Regions from separate parts of the Homo sapiens genome. Here region 2 is linked to region 1. Evidence: promoter capture Hi-C in human tissues and cell types (Jung and others, 2019). All regions are on one chromosome and are shown on one strand. Each heading gives the region's core, a stretch centred on a gene start or on the middle of the fragment in contact. The rest is flanking DNA. Distances are from core to core; before and after follow the strand shown. Region 1 holds the start of SLC47A2 (solute carrier family 47 member 2). Region 2 has its middle 34 kb from the start of ALDH3A2.

What was found. Contacts are between HindIII fragments. The study calls those that stand out against the background at their distance.
Region 2: a fragment that was not itself captured here is called in contact with the fragment with the promoter of SLC47A2 in region 1 in 2 of the 25 tissues and cell types used here (mesendoderm cells and thymus).

The regions. Positions count from the first base shown.
Region 1 is chr17:19,714,881-19,718,821 of GRCh38, reverse strand. SLC47A2 (solute carrier family 47 member 2) reads left to right here and starts at 2,238. Exons shown (of 17, transcript NM_001099646.3): 1 at 2,238-2,389; 2 at 3,605-3,706. The coding sequence starts at 2,267. LOC124903948 (a long non-coding RNA gene) reads right to left here. Exons shown (of 2, transcript XR_007065659.1): 1 at 3,587-3,941; 2 at 1-1,448. RefSeq lists enhancers at 1,063-1,910, 1,911-2,760. The HindIII fragment of the contact is 9,747 bases long and covers 1-3,941 here.
Region 2 is chr17:19,612,947-19,616,887 of GRCh38, reverse strand. No RefSeq gene overlaps it. Among named protein-coding and RNA genes, the nearest start is that of ALDH3A2, 34 kb to the left of the region's middle. The HindIII fragment of the contact is 3,298 bases long and covers 1-3,280 here.

The DNA.
Region 1 (3,941 bases), core at 989-3,488:
CTCACGGAGCTCTGACACCCCTCACCTGGAGGAGGTGGCTTCCCCCCACCCCCCACTCTGCCTGCACCACCTTTGCCTGGGGCGGCCAATGCATGGCAGTGGAGTCAGTAATCGCCCTTGCTCCTCCCCAGGGTCAAACCCACTGGGGTCTGGGGATTGAAATTCTGAGAGGAGTGTAGGAGGAGAGTGTCTTCCCGAAGAAAATGTAGGAATGCATTGGCTTCTATCACAAAAATCCTGGGAATGTTCCTGAGAAGGGATTTTGGAGATGCTCGGCCTAGGACTGGCCCTCGGGAAGATGACCCGACCTTTGTCCTGTGCAGCTGAGTGCTGAACACTGGTCAGCTCTGGATAAAGCCTGATGTCACCGAGCTGATGGCGGGGCGTCTGCACTGAACACCTTCCAGCTTGGTGGGGGCACGGGAACCAGCTGTCCTCATTAAAAGTGACCTGGAGTGAGATGGATTCTTCTGCCTATACCTCCACGTGTGGGCTCCCTGAACACCCCCATCGCCATGGGCTCCCAAGAAGTATTGCTTCTGGCTGCAGGGCTCACTGCAATGCTGCGACAGGAGGTGACAGGCCAAGGCCAGCAGGTGACTGCTCTCCCCAGAGGCCCTGTCAGCTGGAAGCAGCTGGTTTCACATAACAGAGACCCCAGGCCCAGGTCCCCTGGATGCAGGAGGATTTGCGGCTGCCCTTTTGGAAGAGGTAGGCTGACCATGAGAACTGGCCAAAGGTGAGAAGGACGTGGAGAAGGTGTTGGAGGAGGGAAGTCAGACATACTAGCAATAGCCTGGCCTGCAGGGCTGTAGCTTTCACCTGTACTTCCTCCTGTTTGGTGTCATCATCACAATCACGATGGTGATAAAATGTCTTCTTTCCTCTAGGCAGGTGGTAAAGGTACTATTTGGTGCACAGGTTGGAGAGTGCTGTGATAAGAACCATCAGAACAAGGGCAGGAATGTGACCTCCCAGGTGATCCTGGGAGGATCCAGTGGAGCGTTTCAGAATTCTGTGTCAAAAAAGAAGGCTGCGTGTTGACTGGGGTGGGGCTGTGCCTGTGTTTGGGGCCGCCCATGGGTGTAGCAAACCCTTTTTTTTTTTTTGTATTTGTCCTGCCTCCTCTCCTTCAGGGTCTGCTCCTTCCTCCTCGCGGCTCTGGGGGCTGCATCTCGGAATCCTGCCGGCCACTCCTCCGCTGCAGGGGTGGACATGGGAACCAAGTGGGGCCTTTGGGATGTCTTCAGCCCTCCCACAGCCACTGGCCAGCCTGCCTGCTGTCTTCCTGCCCCCCTCGCTCACTCCTCCTTCTCCTGGGCTGAACCACACCCAAAAGCTTGATCCAGGACTGGGCTAGGTGACCGGTGCAATCCTTAGATGCCTCTCTTGGTTCCCACTGCCCTGCTGGTCTTGAGGCAGGTTGAGGGGGGAGTCACAGGCCATCCCTGCAAGGAAAAGCAGAGAGGGCAATTTGGGAAGGTGACAGAGGACCCTGTGGGACGTCGAGTCACAGCCTTGCTGGGCACAGTGACTGGCGTGCATAGTGAGCTGCTTTCCCAAGCACTGCCACCCCTGGCTCTCAGATATGCTGCTGAAAGGGGTGACGGGCAGTGGGGGGCTTGGGACTCCGCCGAGGTGTCCTAGCTCCCATCCCTATCCCCAGGCCCAGGCCCAGGCCCCTCCAGCATGAAAGGCTAGGGACCGCACTGCCATGGGGTTTGCCAGGCCCCTGTCTCTTGGGAAGCCACCCCTCCCAGGGAAAAGCAGGGCTGAGGGCTGTTCAGGCTCTGCCACCACCTGCTCTGTGACTTCGGGCAGGCCACCAATTCTTCTGAAAAACGGGAGTCACTGTGGGCACCATCACGCCCGGGTACAGGACGCCCAGTGGCTCAGCTGCCCCAGCCAGGCTGCCCTGTCCTGGCCTCAGCACACCTCCCACAGCCACTGCAGGCAGCCCTGGACCTTCTCCTGCTGAGGCCTTACTGCCAATCCCTCTGGGAGACCAGACACAACAGGCAGCGGTCTGGGTGACTCCCAGGAACCTGTCCTCCCTAGTGGCTGAGGCAGTAGGCTTGGCAGCAGGGACTCAGTGCCCTAGGAGGCAGGGCTCATCCCACAAGTTGCCATGGTAGCCCCTCCTCCTGCCCCTTACTCATCAGCCAGGCTGTACCGACACGGGCTGCCCAGGCAGGGGGTGGCTCGCTGGACAAAGCTGGCCGTGCAGGCGCTCAGGCGTGCAGGGTAGCCAGTGCCCCGGCCAGGAATGGACAGCCTCCAGGACACAGTGGCCCTGGACCATGGGGGCTGCTGCCCTGCCCTCAGCAGGCTGGTTCCCAGAGGCTTTGGGACTGAGATGTGGACTCTCTTTGCCCTTTCTGGACCCCTGGTAAGGAGGAGGAGCTGGGGGGCAGGTAGGGAGTGGAGGAAGCTGAGAGGCTGAGGGTGTCTGCCTTGCAGGCAGGATCCAGAAATGTGCTCACATTTTCCCCAGAAACTGCCCATGTTGACTGCCAGGTCCAGAGTCTGGGGACAGCAGGATGGCTCCTGAAAGCTGTCTCTGGACAATCCCCAGTGGCAGTGGGGCCTGACTTTGCTCAGCAGCAGGCAGCCCCCACACAGAAGGGGTGGGTGTGCCTCAGCTGGAAACCCACAAAAGCCTGAGTTGGAAGATGGCTCCAGGACAAATGGGACCCAGAGATGCATGAAGCCTGCAGCACCTTCGCAGGGGGAAGAAGGGGCCGGCTACCCATTTCATTTCCAAAGGGGAAATTGTTTTAAATACATTTATTTTTTCTGATCATGAAGAGGAATAGGCTGGGCGTGCTGCCTCACGCCTGTTATCTCAGCACTTTGGGAGGCCGAGCAGGGAGGATCACCTGAGGTCAGGAGTTGGAGACCAGCCCGGCCAACATGGAGAACCCCCCGACTCTACTAAAAATACAAAAATTAACCAGGCATGGTGGCGGGCGCCTGTAATTCCAGCTACTTGGGAGAGAGAGGCAGAGAATCGCTTGAACCCGGGACGGGTAGGTTGCAGTGAGCCGAGATCGCGCCACTGCACTCCAGCCTGGGCAACAAGGGCGAAACTCCGTCTCAAAAAAAAAAAAAAAAACAAAAAAAACAAAACCAAAAAGGAGTAATGGAATTGCACTTCCTGTAAAACTTTTAGAAAAAAATGAAAGATATAAAGAAGAAAGAAATTTAACTCAAATCCTAGTACTTGGAAATAGCCATTACTAAGATTTTGGTGTATTTAATTCCCCTCCTTTTTTGGGGGTGTGCGGCCTGACCAAATTATTGTTATAATAGGAACTGCAATAGCAGTATCAGACACTTGGGTCAAGCTCAGGGCGCCAGGCACTGCGCTGCGCCAGGCACTGACCCTTCTGGGTAGGGACGTGGAGGCCAGGCGTGACTGCAGCTGCAGAACGCAGAATGGGAGCTGGGCTAGGTCATCCGACCTCCAGCCCTGGCTTCCCCAGGCGTAGGTGACCTCTCGGGGCACTGGTGCGGGGCCCTCAAAGCTGGAGAGGCCTGTCTTGCAGGGCTCGGCTGTGTGGGCACCTGTGGCCCCGAGTCTGACCTGGCCGCTGTCCTCCAGTTCCTGTTCCAGGTGCTGACTTTTATGATCTACATCGTGAGCACTGTGTTCTGCGGGCACCTGGGCAAGGTGGAGCTGGCATCGGTGACCCTCGCGGTGGCCGTGAGTACCCAGCTTGGCCCAGAGCAGGGACGTTCTCTCCCCAGGCTTCTCCACCGGGTTCCCGGGTGGGCCCGTCTTGGGTGGCTGGTCAGGGATGGGAAGACACAGCCCACGTGGCTGGACAGCTGCCTTCACAGGTGGAACCTGAGGGCCGGAGATGGAGGCGGTCTGGCCCTGGGGCACACAGCACATGAGGCTGCTGAGCAGAGCCTCTGCCACCGCTGCCTGCTGGGCA
Region 2 (3,941 bases), core at 382-2,881, 100 kb after region 1:
GCTCACTGCAGCCCCAACTTCCTGGGCTTAGGTGATCCTCCCACAGAGCTGGGACTACAAGCATGTGCCACCACATCTAGGCAATTTTTGTAGTTTTTGTAGAGATGGGTCTTGCTATGTTGCCCATGCTGGTCTCAAACTCCTGGCCTCAAGGGATTGAAAACTATTTTAAAATATATATATATATTTTAATATATATATATATAATGTACATATATACATATACATTTATACATATATACATACATATATAATATATACATATTATATATTATATATACATACATAATATATACATATTATATATTATATATACATACATAATATATACATATTATATATTATATATACATACATATATATACATATTATATGTATGTGTTGGCCAGTTTTTAGTTGTTTAAAGCAGAAAGGTAAATCCAGTCCCTATTACTCCATCTGATCACCTCCTTGGTCCTGAGATTTTATAAGAATACGTTTAGGCATTGGTCTAAAATCAGTGAGGTCAGATGACACTAGGAAAGCACACTTGAAAATAATAAAACTGGGCCAGGCGTGGTGGCTCACATCTATAATCTCAGCACTTTGGGAGGCCGAGGCAGGCAGATCACCTGAGGTCAGGAGTTCAAGACCAGCCTGGCCAACATGGTGAAACCCCATCTCTACTAAAAATGCAAAAATTAGCTGGGTGTGGTGGCACGTGCCTGTAATCCCAGCTACTTGGGAGACTGAGGCAAGAGAATTGCTTGAACCTGGTCTTTAGAATTATTTCAGTAGAACCAAGTGTAACATTATTTAGTTGGTTTATCATTAACAGAAAATCATAATTAAAAGCTTTATTTAACTTTGTAAATTTGAAAGAGCATAAAGAATAGATGTTTTAGTTGAATATATATATATGATTCAATTCCTAGAGAAATTCTGATACATAGATTTTAACTTAGCACACTAAGTTCAGCACAGATGCCAGGGAGTAGAATGCTTGACTCACCAGCACACAGGAGAACTGTGGTGCAGGAGCACCAAGCCTCCTCTACATTCCCTTCCCCCAGAGCATTGCCCACTCGGATGCTGGCTGCAACTCCAAGGCCCAGGGGTACCTGAGAATTAAGAAGCATAAATCACAGTCGTAAAGCCTGAACATTGGAGTATTAGTGCACTAGCGTCTAACTAAATGGAAACAGGACAGACCCGGAGAGCTGAGTTCTAGAACTGGCTCTCTTACATCCTAGCTGTGTGACTGTGGACAAATTGCTTAGCCATGTGACATCCGATTTCTTTGCAGGTAAGGAAGCATGACAGTTGCCCTGACGGCTCCCTGTACCACATTCATCACAGCAGAACCTCGTAATGAAGCTGGATTTGAGGGCAACACACCCCCTTTATTGGCTACACACACACTATCAAGACAATTCAACTTAGCTACATTATACAAAGTAAGATTTAACTTAGTATAAACGTTAGTATACAAATAATTTGTAAAAATTAAATGACCCATGTGAAAAAGCATTTAGAACCGCGCCTGGCACACTGTAGGAACCCCAGACATTGATGAAATCTGACTCCACGACAATACCTCGTTTTTGGTGGGATGGGTGAAACATTCCATATGTCTGATTATCCGGTAAATTGAAAGAGGCCCCTTCAAATGCAAAGGCTTAATTTTAATCATTGATTATGAAAATCTAAAGCTATAAGCTTATTTGCTTCTTAAATAGACCACCACTCAACCTTTGGGGCCACCTTCTTGACCCCTATCATGATCCTGCAATACAATGCTGCCCCCAGGGGCTGCGAGGGTAACGTGGGTTGTACAGACAACTTAGCTTTGGGCTCTCAAGTTCACTTTTAATCACTCGTACATCAGCTCTAACTTCTCATTCCTACTAGAAACAGCATCCTCCCAAAAGCCTTCTAATTCATTACTGTTTTGAAAACTAGCCTAAGTTCAGTTGATAAAAATATATATTAAATTGTTAAGATTAAGAACTTGAGGCCAGGCGCGGTGGCTCATGCCTGTAATTCTAGCACTTTGGGGTGCCAAGGCTGACAGATCGCCTGAGCTCAGGAGTTCGAGACCACCCTGGGCAACATGGTGAAACCCTGTCTCTACTAAAATACAAAAAACTAGCCACGCATGGTGGCACGCGCCTGTAGTCCCAGCTACTCGGGAGGCTGAGGCATGAGAATCGCTTGAGCTCGGAAGGCGGAAGTTTCAGTGAGCGAAGATTGTGCCACTGCACTCCAGCTTGGGCTACAGAGTGAGACTCCATCTCAAAAAAAAAAAAAAAAAAAAGAACTTAAAAAAAAAAACAGACCTGAGTATGAGTATATAAACATCTCTTAAGATTTGCATGCCTAAAGTACACATAACTGGCTTCCAGTTCAAAATGAATGAATCACATGCCTAACTCCCTTCCCTCCCAAAACACTGTTAATGGAAAATAAATCTCCATGCTTAATAGAAAATAAATTCATTAACAACACTGAGAATGAGAGCCGGTCAGCTTCTGGAAGAGGGAAAGCAGGCTCCACAGCCATGATCCAAGGGCAGAAACGCAGGAAGCCACAGCACAGAACATGAACAGAATGCTGCCTCACACTCCGTCTTCCCAGTAGAGCTCCAGGAGCACTGACGCCCTGCTTCCCCCCACCGAGGCTGTGAAGAAGAGCAGTCAGGGAGATGCGCCACAGGGCTGGGACAGGACACCCAAGCCCCGCGACCTGCCCGTCCTTAGCCTTACTGCACACAAGAAGCTGGGCTGACACAGAAAAGCCAAGTGTGGAGCTTCCTCCGTGGCGTGAGTCAGGCCCTTCTTCTTTTGTTTTGGGGGATAGGTGGGACATGGGGATAAGGTGGGGCAGGAGGTCAGGCTGCCTACTGCCTAATCCTCACCCATAAGTCCTAAAATGAAGATGTCACTGGACAGGTACCACCTTGGTACCGAGTTCCCCACTGGTCCTTCCCATTTTGGGGAGAGGCCTGTTGGAGAAAAATCTCCAAATAATAGGAGAGGAAAGCTATGCCGGCCATTTGTTTGATAAATCAATGTACTCATTCATTCCTAAGTATAAACAGACTAGTAAGATCACCAGAGCTTTGAGGAAGACTGAAGCACACATCCCCAAAACAGATAAAGATAAGTAAAAGGTCAACTGATCTCAGAGAAAATAGATGACTCAAGGAACACAGAAGAACGTTTAAAGTTCCGATTTAGCATCCACAGGGATATTTAAAAGGTAATGCAGCATAAAACAAGAACAGGTTCCCATAAAAGAGACTATAAGACAAAAAAAAGATGTTCTTAGAAATTAAAAATGAAACTAAAAAAAAAAGCAGCAAAGAAGATAAACAAAAAGACAAAGAGATATTTTTTAATAGAAAAAAAAAAGCCAAAGCCAAGAAGATTAATTCCCAAGGTCAACCTCCACCTAATAAGAAATTTAAAAAGAAAGAACAGAAAAAAATTTACAGAAAAGAGGGAAAGAATATTTTTTAAATTTCCCAGAGTTGAAGAAAAACACAGGTCTTCAGACTGAAAGGGTATACCAAGTGCTAAGCAGAAGTTAAAAAGTATCCTCAGAGAAATGCACTCTTGTGAGATTTCAGAACTATAAAGATAAAGAAATAAACGTTAAAACTTTCAAAGAGAAAAATCATGCTGCCTACAAAGGAACAAGAAACAGATTCTGAGCAGACTTCACATCAGTAACTCTGAATACCAGACTGAGACACAGCAATGTCCTCAAAATTCAGAGGGAAGTTATTTTGAACCTACAATCCTATACTCAGCCAAATTATTAAACAAGTATAAGAGGAAAATAAAGACTCTCGAATATGCATGGCATATGATTTACTTTCCATATAATCTTAGAACAAGTTTTTGACTAAGTACTCCAGAACAAATTTTTTTAAATTTTCATTTGGCTGCTGCTAGATC